Linked DNA regions of Homo sapiens: region 2 is linked to region 1. The links are contacts of gene promoters, found by promoter capture Hi-C in blood cells and fetal thymus (Javierre and others, 2016). All regions are on one chromosome and are shown on one strand. The core of a region is centred on a gene start or on the middle of the fragment in contact, and the rest is flanking DNA. Distances in the headings are between cores, read along the strand shown.

Region 1 (7,112 bases), core at 3,178-5,677:
CAAAGTTGCCAGTGCTGTGTATCAGTCTTACCTCTGCTAAGTGCACAACAGCTGCCCTGGCCAAATTCTAGTACTATGGTATTTGACCACTGGAGACAGGCAGTCATATTTAAATCTAAGATGGTTTCCATGTGCATTCTTGCAAGAGATAAGATTCATCCACACTTTAGACCATGCAGACTTGGTCTGGAATTATCCAGCACCTTTTCTTCCCAACCAGCCATTCCACACTTAGTTAACAGGAGGCTTGGAGGCAGAGACCAGTTTGGAGCCAGCCATGGTAGGGTTGGGTGGTAGCACCCTAAATGAGTAAGTAGATGTGCACACCTCTGTATTCCAAAGCCAGACGTGTCTATTTTTGGCTCATCCCTTTCCGTTTCTCTTTCTTTTTTTTTTTTGAGATGGAGTCTCACTCTGTCACTGAGGATGGCGTGCAGTGGCTTGATCTCGGCTCGCTGCAACCTCCGCCTCCCAGGTTCAAGTGATTCTCCAGCCTTAGCCTCCTGAGTAGCTGAGATCACAGGCGCACCACCACGCCCAGCTAATTTTTGTATTTTTAGTAGAGACGGGCTTTCACTATGTTGGCCAGGCTGGTCTCGAACTCCTGACCTCAGGTGATCCACCTGCCTCAGCCTCCCAAAGTACTGGGATTACAGGCATGAGCCACCATGCCTGGCCTCCATTTTTTATGTGAGTAGAAAAGGAGAGATGAAACCAAAGCTAGAAAGCCTATGATTCCAATAACCTAGTGCGGACACTTCCTAACTTCTATGTGAACAACTAGCCTAGGTTGGGCCTCCTGTATTCTGTTCTCAATCGTGCCTGGGTGTCAGTGGGACTGTACTTATTTTGGCATGACAGGAGACGCTAGGTCATGGTGCCCCATTTCCCTCTTGCTGTAGCTAGGCCTCATAAATGGTGAACTTCATACATGCTATCATAGAGTTCTGCTATCTAAACTCCATTTACAACAGTTCTTCAAGCAGTGTTTCTAATTCCAACCTATAGATTTACCACTTGCATCTGTATTTATATCCATAATCCCCAAATATACCATGGTATCTTATTTAGCACCAAGCTGACTAGCATCACAAATCTGTTTCCTATGGAAGGTGCTGGAGTTAATCTTATTCTAGACTGCATAGGCGGATCCTACTGGGAGAAGAACGTCAACTGCCTGGCTCTTGATGGTCGATGGGTTCTCTATGGTCTGATGGGAGGAGGTGACATCAATGGGCCCCTGTTTTCAAAGCTACTTTTTAAGCGAGGAAGTCTGATCACCAGTTTGCTGAGGTCTAGGGACAATAAGGTGAGTGATGAATGAAAAGAAAACATGTGATTTAACCCAGAAAAGTGTGGTTCATTTACATTACCCCGAGAAAGGAAGCTCTACCTTAGATTACGGAGGTTAGTTTCTATGAAGAAACCTCCCCCTCTGAAGATAAAGAGGGAACCCGATTTCAGAGAACTGATTCAGATTGGTTGATAGAAGCTTCAGTATCATGAAAAGAAGTGTAGCTGATACTTCACAGGTTATCTGAACATTCTAACAGAATGAAGAAAGCACTGACTATATTAGGAAGTATTTCGAGTAGTTCCAAGACTTTGTTTTCAAAGGCAGAATTCATCTCAGTGTGCTAGAAAGTCTCTTAGGTGAGTAAAAAAATAAGTAAGCCTTGGCCTTCAACAGATTATAGGTTCCATGCCGGGCACAGTGGCACTTGCTTGTAGTCCCAGCTACTTGGAAGGCTGAGGCAGAGGATTGCTTGAGTCCAGGAGTTTCAAGGCTGCAGTGAGCTATGATTGCACCTGTGCATAGCCACTGTACCCCAGCCTGAGCAACATAGCAAAACCTCATCTCAAAAAAAAAAAGATTATATGCTCCTGAAATATTCCATCTGGCAGTCTAGCAGGTACCACCTTTGGGAATGTTTCCACCATAGGGTTTTGCACCAGCTGAGGGACAGGAGAGCTTAAGCATCCTTTTTTCACTAAGCCTATATGAGTCCTATCTGTGGCTGCCTCCTGGGTAAAGACACTTTATTTAAAAACAATTCTTAGGCTGTCAGTGACACTAACATTTTACTCCAGGCTTCAGTCTTTATCTGGTACAGAACAGAAGTTACACATTTGGAGGTACAAGGGAGCCAGAGATCACCTGTAACCCCCCTTTAGCTCCTATGTGGTCTCTTCAGCTGGCTCTAGAAACCAAATTGATACCAGCAGATTGACAGGAGAAAAGCATGTACTTTTTTTTTTTTTTTTTTTTTTTATGGAGACAGGGTCTTACTCTGTCACCCAGGCTGGAGTGCAATGGCACAATCAGCCTCCTGGGTAGCTAAGACTGAAGGCATACCACCATGCCTGGCTTGTATTTTTTATAGAGACAGGTTTTCACCATGTTGCCCAGGCTGATCTCAAACTCCCAGGCTCAAGTGATTCGGCCAAAGTAAGATGCTTTTGTAATTTTTAGACAAAGAACAATAAATTTGAGAAGAAATAAGACAAAATCTGGCTAGGGATAGTAAATTTCTAGGGAAGTCACTAGGAGATATATGGGGGTGGGGGGTGTAAAACTAGTGGAAGATAAGGGTTACTTCCTTAAGTGTATTTATTCAGTTCCATTGCAGCCCCGTTTCCAGTCTCTGGTGATAAGGGCTTTTTGCCCTAGTATGGGGAGGGTACCCCTCTCAGAGGAATCTTTATGACTTGCTACATGCAAGAAGAGACAGGTCAGCTAGCCTTTTCTGAAACTACAATTTCTCCAATGCTTTCACCTCAAAATTAACAATATACCTATCGGACATATTCTGAGATGGCACATGACTCCTTCAAGGGTATTTCACACACATGCTAGGAAGTGAGGGGTTAAGTGTCCCTGTGTGCTTTTTCAGATACGTGGCTTCAGAGAGAGCAAGAAGGCTGAGGAGGATGAGGAGGGCAGGGTGAGGCTCTCTCCCCAGGCTGATGATCTCCTTTCCCTTGTCTTAGTACAAGCAAATGCTGGTGAATGCTTTCACGGAGCAAATTCTGCCTCACTTCTCCACGGAGGGCCCCCAACGTCTGCTGCCGGTTCTGGACAGAATCTACCCAGTGACCGAAATCCAGGAGGCCCATAAGTACATGGAGGCCAACAAGAACATAGGCAAGATCGTCCTGGAACTGCCCCAGTGAAGGAGGATGGGGCAGGACAGGACGCGGCCACCCCAGGCCTTTCCAGAGCAAACCTGGAGAAGATTCACAATAGACAGGCCAAGAAACCCGGTGCTTCCTCCAGAGCCGTTTAAAGCTGATATGAGGAAATAAAGAGTGAACTGGAAGGGTGGCACGCGGACTGGGGCCGCCGCGGCGGGGTTGAGGTGGGAGTCCGGACGGGCGTCGCAGCGGGGATTACTGAGGCCCGATCAGCTGACGCTCAACCTGAGGGCCCCTCCAGGGACGGAGATTCTGGGTATAGTTACAGCGTCAGCCGTGACACAAGCCGCCAGAACCCCACATATTCCGCCTTGCGCACAGCTAGAGGCCCAGGCCCACCACCTCCGGCACCTGCCCGCGCGCCCCGCAACCAGTGGGCACCACAGCAGGCCCCAGCCCTGCCCGCTACTCACCTGGGCCCCACCCCACCTCTCGCCGCCCTCCTCAGGCCCCACCACCTCCCGCTACACATCTGAGCCCCGCCCCACCTCCACCACTTTCCTCAGCCCCAACCACCTCCTGCTACACTTCTGGGCCCCGCCGCACCTCCACCACCCTCCTCAGGCCCCGATCCCTTCCGCTACTCACCTGGGTCCCGCCCCAGCTCAGTCCTCCTCAGGCCCCGCCTTCGCCCGCTACTCACCTGGGCCCCACCCCACCTCTCGCCACCCTCCTCAGGCCCCACCACCTCCCGCTACACATCTGGGCCCCGCCCCACCGCCACCACCCTCCTCAGGCCCCGCCCCTTCCATTACTCACTTGGGTCCCGCCCCAGCTCACCGCCTTGCTCAGGCCCGGCTCCCTCCCGGATACTCACTTGGGCCCCACCCCAGCTCTCCGCACCCTCCTCAGGCCCCGCCCCCTCCCGCTACTCACCTGGGTCCCGCCCTACCTGTCATAACCCTGCTCAAGCCCCGCCTCCTCCGCTCCCCAGTTACTCACCTGAGACCCGCCCCAGCTCTCCGCCCTCCTCAGGCCCCGCCCTCTCCACCCGGGTTCCTCTGCTCAGGGCCTCCCCGACCGGAACATCTCGCCTTTTGGAGGCTACGCCCCGCCCTTTACGGTACAGAGCCCGGAAGTGTCTTGGACTCTCGCCTTTCCATCTTCCGGCCTCGAGTCTCGCTCAGGCTCGGTTTTACCCCGGAGTCTATTCGAAGGGGGCTGCTACGTCAGCGCGTCTCAGCGTAAGACGGCGCTATTCCGCTGTAACAGCTTCCGGCGGGTCCTGGATGTTGATGTCCTGCATCTAACGCGGTGTAACCCCCGAAGCCGAGCGAGCTCCGGAGGAATTTCAGTATCTGCTACGGTAACTTCATCAGCCCGCCAAGATGGCGATGCAAGCGGCCAAGAGGGCGAACGTGAGTATCGGGTGTTCTGCGGAGGGTGGGAGAACTTCGGGTTTGACTTTCTTAGCGGCGTGGATCGGAGCATTCTTGCTCCTCCTCCGTCCCCAGAGCGGAGAACTCCAGAATTCCTATCCTGTCAGCGAAGACACTATCCGGCCCCATCCTCAGAGATATGCTCCTTGAGCCACATTTCTGTCCCCACCCCTTTTGAGAGTTCCTCAGTCTCTACCCTAGTGTCAGTGATAGTGTTACCCCTATAGCCTCTTTGCTTGACCCGCACCTAAGGACCTGGCGTTAGGATTATCTCCTTGACTTAAAGTCGATATCTCAGAAGAGTCCTCAACTAACTTAATGGTTCACCAACAACTAGGACCTGGGATTCCCCTCAGATCATGGTGCTTTTCGGATCCTTCATTAACACATTAATTAAAACAATATTTTTTGAGCACCTACTATGTATTCTGCTTGCCATGTGGGACATAATTCATCAATTATATTTATTGAATAGCTACTATGTGCCAGACACTAGTCTTACGTATTGGGAATACAGCAGTGAATAAAACAAGTCCTTCTGCTTACATTCTAGTGTTTGAGAGTACAGTGTTACGGAAACTTTTAAAAAAAAAAAACTCAAAAAAGAGATTAGTCAACAGTAAAACGCTTAGAGGTGTAAGATGAAGTTAGGCCGAGTGAGGTGGCTCATGCCTGTAATCCCCGCACTTTTGGAGGCTGAGGTGGGAGGATTGCTTGAGCCCAGGAATTCAAGGCTGCCTTGAGCCATGATTGTGCCACTGCGCAGCACTTCAGCCCAGGAGACAGAGCAAGACCCTGACTCAAAAAAAAAAAAAAAAACAGAAAGAAAGAAAGAAAGAAAGAAAAGACAAGCAATTGACCATTGTATATGTAAATGGAGACTTTTGGTGACCTTGATGATAGGAATCATTTCAGTGGATGAAAACTTGATTGCAGTGGGGTGAAAAGATGGTGGAAGTTGAGAAAATGGAAACAGCAAAGACACTCTGTCCATGAGTTCTCATTTAAATAGGAAGTAGGGAAATTGGATGATAGTTGACTTTTTTTTTTGAGATGGACTCTCACTCTGTCACCCAGGCTGGAGTGCAGTGGCACAGTCTTGGCTCACTGCAACCTCTGTCTCCTGAGTTCAAGCAATTCTCCTGCCTCAGCCTCTTGAGTAGCTGGGATTACAGGTGCCCACCACCATGCCCGGCTAATTTTTGTATTTTTAGTAGAGACAGGGTTTCTCCGTGTTGGCCAGGCTGGTCTCAAACTCCTGACCTCAAGTGATCCACCTGCCTTGGCCTCCCAAAACGCTGGGATTACAGGCATGAGCCACCGCACCCGGCCAGATAGTTGACTTTTTAAAAGATGTGTGATATAGGTGTATCTTTATGCCAATGGGAGCAATCCAGCAGAGTGTGCGAAACATGATATGGAAGAAAGATAGGTTGAGTTTAGAAGTGAAGGTTTTGAGTAGATGAAGGTTGGCGTAGTAATAGAGGGAAAGTAGTTGGATATAGATGAAAAGTATTTCAATTGGTCATGTCTATTTTCTCCAAGAAACAAGAATCAGGGTCATCTCCTGGGATGGGCAGGGAAGAGGGTACAGCCCAACTCAGGTGTTAGCAGGAGTGATGGTGGTAAGGTTTGCAAAGGCCTACACCCACCACCATGCCTGGCTAATTTTTTAAAATTTTTGTAGAGATGGGGGTCTCACTATGTTGTCCAGGCTGGTCTCAAACTCCTGGGCTCAAGTGATCCTCCCACTTTGCCTCCCAAAGTGCTGGGATTATAGGGACCAGCCACTGCACCCAGCCTCTGTTGCTTTTTCAAAGATCTGCCCATTTTCAGAAACATCAAATTATACCTCTTATTCTTGGCTTTTTATTATTACGTATCATTAAGAATTTTTTAAAATGCCCCTAATTATAGGGGCATTTAAATTATAATTTTTTAGAATGCCCCTAATTATAATAACAATACGTATTTCTCATTTTAGATTCGACTTCCACCTGAAGTAAATCGGATATTGTATATAAGAAATTTGCCATACAAAATCACAGCTGAAGAAATGTATGATATATTTGGGAAATATGGACCTATTCGTCAAATCAGAGTGTGAGTCTTACTGAGTCATTTAAAGAAAATGATAGCATAATCTGTAATTTCAGAATTATAGCTGACGATGAGGCCACCCTGTGCTGTGTGCAGTGCGACAACCCTTACCAAGAGCCTTGAGACTAGCAGATTGAGATCAGAGAGATGAGATCTTTTTGAAGGGGGGAGAAAACCTACTGAGACCCTAATGATCCAGCTCAATGAGAGCCAAGAAGAGGATTTGAGTTTCCTCAAAGCATTCATTGAAGTAGTAATGAATGCTTTGAGGAAACTGGTTGAGAAGGGAAAGAACTAACATTTATTGCATACCTGTTATTTGTAAAGCTAGCTTGTTACACTGTGTTTTTTGTATGCAGCAGCTCTATAATTTTCTCAACAATCATCACTGTCTCTTTAAATAACCCCAGAATTTCTGAATAAACTAAGTAAAAGAGT
Region 2 (6,576 bases), core at 3,180-5,679, 720 kb before region 1:
CCATCCCATTACTGGGTATATATCCAAAGGATTATAAAACATGCTGCTATAAAGACACATGCACATGTATGTTTACTGCGGCACTATTCACAATAGCAAAGACTTGGAACCAACCCAAATGTCCTACAATGATAGACTGGATTAAGAAAATGTGGCACATATACACCATGGAATATTACGCAGCCATAAAAAAGGATGAGTTCACATCCTTTGTGGGGACATGGATGAAGCTGGAAACCATCATTCTCAGCAAACTATCGCAAGGACAAAAAACCAAACACCGCATGTTCTCACTCATAGGTGGGAATTGAACACTGAGAACACATGGACACAGGAAGGGGAACATCACACACCGGGGCCTGTTGTGGGGTGGGGGGAGGGGGGAGGGATAGCATTAGGAGATACACCTAATGTTAAATGAAGAGTTAATGGGCGCAGCACACCAACATGGCACATGTATACATATGTAACAAACCTACACGTTGTGCGCATGTACCCTAAAACTTAAAGTATAATAAAAAAATTAAAAAATGTTAGGTGATATTCACTGTAACTCTACCGGATTTTTGTTTTTTTGAGACGGAGTCTCACTCTGTTTCCCAGGCTGGAGTGCAGTGGCTCGATCTCAGCTCACTGCAACCTCCGCCTCCCAGGTGCAATTCGTGCCTCAGCCTCCTGAGTAGCTGGGATTATAGGCGCCTGCCTCCATGCCTGGCTAATTTTTGTATTTCTGGTAGAGATGGGGTTTCACCATGTTGGCCAGGCTGGTCTCAAACGCCTGACCACAGGCGATAGGCCTGCCTCGCCTTTCAAAGTGCTGGGATTACAGGCATGAGCCACCGTGCCTGGCCAAACTCTACAGGTTTGATCATTTGAGGGATCAAGGACTGCAATCAATCCAGTAAGATCACAAGTAAAACACATTATAAAAAATGGCCAATTCACCAATTCCCAAATCACGTTTGTTCATTATACTCTAAAGGAACTGCTGATACCACCCTTCTACTCACGCTGGCTCGCCGGTGCCGCACCACAGCCCTCAGCTCATCTCGCAGACGCCTTAGTTTATGAATCTTGGTTCCAAGAGCACCTTCCTGGGCCTGCACGCTCTGCAGCTCTTCAGACTGTTTACGGGATCTGCTCACTTGGGTCTCTAGCCTTTCCAAGTGAGCTAAAACACCTAAGGAGAGTAAAAGGAGAATTTTACAAGAAGCTGAGGATTTCTCACTGTGGCAACAGGAAGCATCTCAGGGAAGAACAGGTGACTCTTTTTTTTTTTTTACCAGAACTTTGTGGCCAGCTGAATTGTTAGATATCTGTCAATTTATAAAACCAGGGGAGCTAACAATTGAAATCAAAGATCATCAACCTCCTAGGTTGGAGAGTGATGTAAAACAGGATCCTCCTCAAAGACAGCCCGAGAGAGGATATGAACTATCACACGCTGATTAGGCAGCAGTGTCTTATCTAGGTCTGCAGTTTATCGCAAATCCACATCTCTAGTGTGTAAAGGATGATTCTCTAGCTTTACCACAGGCCGGAGAGAAGCCCTCTCACAGCCGAGGGCGGTGGCTCACACTTGTAATCTTAGCACTCTGGGGGGCCAAGGCGGGTGGATCACCTGAGGTCAGGAGTTCGAGACCAGCCTGGCCAACATGGCAAAACCCCATCTTTACTAAAAATACAAAAAATTAGCCGGGCATGGTGGCGCATGCCTGTAATCCCAGCTACTCGGGAGGCTGAGGCAGAATTGTTTGAATCCAGGAGGCGGAGGTTGCAGTGAGCCAAGATCACTGCACTCCATTGGAGTGCCATTGCACTCCAGCCTGGGGGACAGAGCAAGACTGTCTCCAAAAAAAAAAAAAAAAAAAAAAAAAAAGGAAGCCCCAGACTTTATTTAATCGAGCTTCTTAAGTACACCCAGCATCTATTTTGTAGGGTTCATATGGATGAACATATATGAAAACCTTAATCTTCTCTCCTTGCCTTGGGACGGAATCCAAAAACTTATCTCATTCACCTATCCAATTAAGACTAGAAACCTCTTATGGTTTTTATGGCTAATAAAACCATTAAAAAAAAGTATGTGAGATCGGGCCGGGTACGGTGGCTCACGCCTGTAATCCCAGCACTTTGGGAGGCCGAGGCGGGTGGATCACGAGGTCGGGACATCAAGACCATCCTGGCTAACACAGTGAAACCCCGTCTCTACCAAAAACACAAAAAATTAGCCGGGTGTGGTGGCGGGCACCTGTAGTCCCAGCTACTCAGGAGGCTGAGGCAGAAGAATGGCGTGAACCCAGGAGGCGGAGCTTGCAGTGAGCCAAGATCGTGCCACTGCACTCCAGCCTAGGTGACAGACTCCGTCTCAAAAAAAAAAAATTTGTGTGAGATCAAATAGAAACAGACACGCACTATATGCAGAATTATCCTATTTTACTCATTGAGGCCTATCCCCTTGCTTTCTCAGAAACCCTAAATGATCAGTTACCCTTTTCTCTGCTGTGTTCATTTCCCTTCCACACACGCTCAAGTCTCAACTGTCTTCAAACACACACTCATATATATATATATATATACACACACATACACACACACACAATTTCATACACTCACAGGCCTATTCTTGCCCACAAATCCCCTTCAGCTACTATCTCCCTTTTCTCCCCTTTCCTTTCCAGGAAAACTACTTAAAAGAGTTGTCCATGCAAGTTGAGTATCCGAACGTTTTGGGACTAGAGGTGTTTCAGATTTCGGAATTGGGAGTATTTGCATTACACTTACTGGCTGAACATCCCATATCTGAAAATCCAAAACTGGAAATAAGCATTTCCTTTGACCATCATGTCAGTGCTCAAAAAGCTTCAGATTTTGGAGTATTTCAGATTTTGGATCTTCAGTGCTCAACTTGTACTCACTTTCTCCATTTTCTTGCCTGTGACTCATACCTCAACCCACTTGAAACTCACTTCTGTTCCCATTATTTTACAAAACCACTCTAAGATCAACAGTGATATCCATGTTGCTGAACCCAAAGGACATTTTTCAAGCTCCCTTATCTCACCTCCCAGCACTATATGCTCCTACTGATCACCACCTTCACGAAACCCTCTTTTCCTCTGAATCTTAGCATAGCGGCCTGTTGGTATGCCTTGTTCAACAGATGTTTATTAAGCATCTATTTTGTGCCAAGTACTATTTCAGGCACTGGGAACATAGTGATGAACAACAGACAACCTGTTTTTGTGACACTTACATTTTACCTCTCTGACCCCACTTTCTGCTTTGAAGGCTCCTACTCTCCTCCTTGACCATTAAATGCTGAAATTTTCCAGAGCTCAGTCCTAAGACCTCTTCTTTCCAGAAGAAATCTCATCAGTACCCACAGCCTTAATGGCCATACATGTCGATGCCACACAAATATGTATCTCTAGCTTATACCTCTCTCCTGCTTCTTGAGAAAGCAGAATATCCACCTGCCTTCTCAGTGTATCTACTTGGAAGACTTACAGGAACCTGACAATCAACATGTCCAAGACTGAATTCATCATCTCCCCTTCTAAACCCCTCCATGACTGGAACCATTATCCATCTATAGCTGTGTAAACCAGTACTTTCTTCCTCACACCTTCTCCCTGACCCAGTCCCAATCCATTACCAGATCCTATTGAATATACATTCCTAGTATCTCTAAAATATTTCCATTTTCCCCATCTGCAATGCCACCATTGTAGTTCAAGCTACTACCATTTCTGGCCTATTACAAGTTTCCTAGGTGGCCCATACACTGAAGCCATATTTCAAAATCTAAACTGGATCGTGTCATCCAGCTGGCTAAAGCCTTTCGATGACTTCACACTGCCTACGAGGCCTACTGGCCTCTGGATCTCTCTTACCCTCATCAGTATCATGCTGCTCCTTCTCTAGGCATTTCCACACAGGCCTCCTCTCAGGCTCTCAAACCCGCCCAGCGTCTTTACTGACCTGATCCCCCCACCCCCAACACACACACCAAAGGCTCTTCCACAGCCGCCCCTTATCCACCTTCACCTGCAGCTACTCTAGCTCGTTAGCACTCAATGCAAGCAGCATTTCCTCAGGGAAACCTTTGTAGCACCTTCAGAACAAGGTCAGGTGCCAGCTCATAAGCTCTCAAAGATCCTTCTGAGACAATACTATAGTTTTTTTGTTTTTGTTTTTTAAATAAAGAGATGGGGTCTCACTATGTTTCCCAGGCTGGTCTCAAACTCCTAAGCTCAAGCGATCCTCCCACCTCGGCTTCCCAAAGTGCTAGGATTACAGGCGTGAGCCACCGCACCCGGCCACTATAGTTTTAATTGTATATTCATTAGTGTGATTATTTGATTTGCTTATCTTTTCCACTGAACCTTAAAGTTCCAAAATCAGGGACCGTGTGCATTTGTGTTCACCCATGGATCCCTTAACCCTAGCACAAAGTGTTTACACATGGTAAACACTCCGGAAATGGTTATTTTTTTCTGAGACGAAATCTCACTCTGTTGCCCAAGCTGGAGTGCAGTGGCGCGATCTCAGCTCACTGCAACCTCTACCTCCCAGGTTCAAGCAATTCTCCTGCTTCAGCCTCCCAATTAGCTGGGACTACAGGCATGCACCACGATGCCCGGCTAATTTTTGTATTTTTAGTAGAGATGGGGTTTCACTATGTTAGCCAGACTGGTCTTGAACTCCTGACCTTGTGATCCACCCGCTTTGGCCTCCCAAAGTGCTGGGATTACAGGTGTGAGCCACCGCGCCCGGCCAACACTCCGGAAATGTTTACCGAAACACGGACAACCAGGCATGACACTCTTGGAGATTACATTCACTTGGCTCATGTCCACAGAAAAACCCACATTACCGCAATAATAATCGTGAGAAACCAAAATTCTAATTAAATAAATTAGTCCTAATAATTAGCACGTGATTAACTGCTTTATTCACCAATCTCTATTTATCCAACAACTATGCATTGAGAATTTACTATGGACCAAGGACCGTGCTGGAAGTTATTCATACTGTGGTGGCAAAACGAAGTCCCTGTCCTCACGGAGCTTACAAAAATTAATGTCCAACCAGGAGGTGATCTGAAAAGCACGCACACATAGAATAATTTAGGGTGGTAGAGGAGACGCCTCACCAAATTCTACTTTATGGAAATTCTATATTACTAAAACAGTAGATATCAATATTCCCAAAGTTTCTGAGATAAGTAGGTGTTCAAAACAGTATCATGCTGCTCCTTCTCTAGGCACTTCCACACAGCCCTCTTCTCAGGCTCTCAAACCTGCCCAGCTTCTTTACCGACCTGATTCCCTCTACACCAAGGGGGTAGCGTTGTTGTTTAGCGTTGCTACTACAGAAAAGAGGGAGTGTATCTGCTGGGCCTGCTTTACCTTGGAAGTTATGATTGCATCTCATCCTAGCCAGTCAGCTTTGTCCCAAAAAAAGTCAAAATCCCTGCCTATTTGAATAAATCATCTGGTTGCAACTACAACTCCATGTCCTTCCTTCTCAAATGAGTGGGGAGAATTCAAATAATAAGCAAAAAACTGAAATCAAACAAGCAGAGGGATAAAACCAGTATGGGTAACAGCTAAGTGTTTAAATATTGTTTTGGGTAGAGAATAAGGAGACTGGTCTAAGTCTCTTGATAATCCAAAACTTCCACCTCATCACTTACTTTAACAGAAATGAAATAAGGCCTGGACTAGAGAACAGGTTACTCCTGAGTGTAGCATGTTTCCACTACATAAAGTCACCAAACTTATTTTTAGTCTTAAAGTAACAATAAATCTTACCCCATATACTTTTATTATCTAAAGTCTCAGCTTAAGTCATCTTAGGCTGAATATAGTTACTTCTCTGTTATCAATGATAATGATGACCCAGAGAAAAATAGGATAACCAAATTCACTGACGCGCTCAGAAATTCTTTTTAAAACTGTAATTTAAGTTAGGTTTTATGGCAAGCTTTCCCAAAGTACTAACGTAGAACCCTTTGGATTTAGGCATCAGGCTTGAGTAAGTATTTCAAAGTTCTAAAAAGTATTAGTAGCAAAGAACATAAAGTCACACAAAACCAGAACTGTCCACAAATATTACTAGGCACTAAAGAAGAAAGCAACTTACTCCTGGACAGAAATTCAAACGCAAATCTCAGTTTCCAAAGGATTGACTAAGGACTAAGTAAAAGTAATAGTTTCGTAATTCTAAGCAACTCTAACAAGCATTCTTTAAACACCTTCTACATTTTAAGACACAAAGTATGTAAAGAATTAAGCCTTTCATTGAATATTTCCTATATATTAGACATGTGCTAAATGCTTCACTTGAAAAGTCTGAGTTCAATACTTTTCCACCACAAAAGAAATACTTTTTCCACAACCACAACTACAGTGCTATTTTCACCTCCATTTTCCAGATGAAGAAACAGAGGCAGAGAATAAAGTGACTTGCCTAAGGTCACAATATTTATCATGGCAGAGCCAACACTCAAAACCAGTTCTAGCCAACACTAAAGTCACTGCCCTACACTGGCCCTCCCTCAAGAGTAAT

The links. Contacts are between HindIII fragments. The CHiCAGO score rates a contact against its expected background, and 5 or more counts as called.
Region 2: a fragment that was not itself captured here is called in contact with the fragment with the promoter of SF3B6 in region 1 in 4 of 17 cell types (neutrophils, naive CD4 T cells, non-activated CD4 T cells and 1 more); the score reaches 10.3 in neutrophils.

What each region holds. Positions count from the first base shown.
Region 1 is chr2:24,073,641-24,080,752 of GRCh38, reverse strand. It overlaps SF3B6 (splicing factor 3b subunit 6), which reads left to right and starts at 4,427. Exons shown (of 4, transcript NM_016047.4): 1 at 4,427-4,553; 2 at 6,559-6,677. The coding sequence starts at 4,524. It overlaps TP53I3 (tumor protein p53 inducible protein 3), which reads left to right. Exons shown (of 5, transcript NM_004881.5): 4 at 1,113-1,309; 5 at 2,992-3,320. The coding sequence ends at 3,174. It also overlaps a transcript of FAM228B not described here. RefSeq lists a silencer at 3,553-4,202 and enhancers at 4,313-4,542, 4,077-4,608, 4,609-5,141. The HindIII fragment of the contact is 6,266 bases long and covers 1,495-7,112 here.
Region 2 is chr2:24,794,279-24,800,854 of GRCh38, reverse strand. CENPO (centromere protein O) reads right to left here. Exons shown (of 8, transcript NM_001322101.2): 3 at 1,011-1,180. Among named protein-coding and RNA genes, the nearest start is that of CENPO, 4.1 kb to the right of the region's middle. The HindIII fragment of the contact is 3,129 bases long and covers 2,865-5,993 here.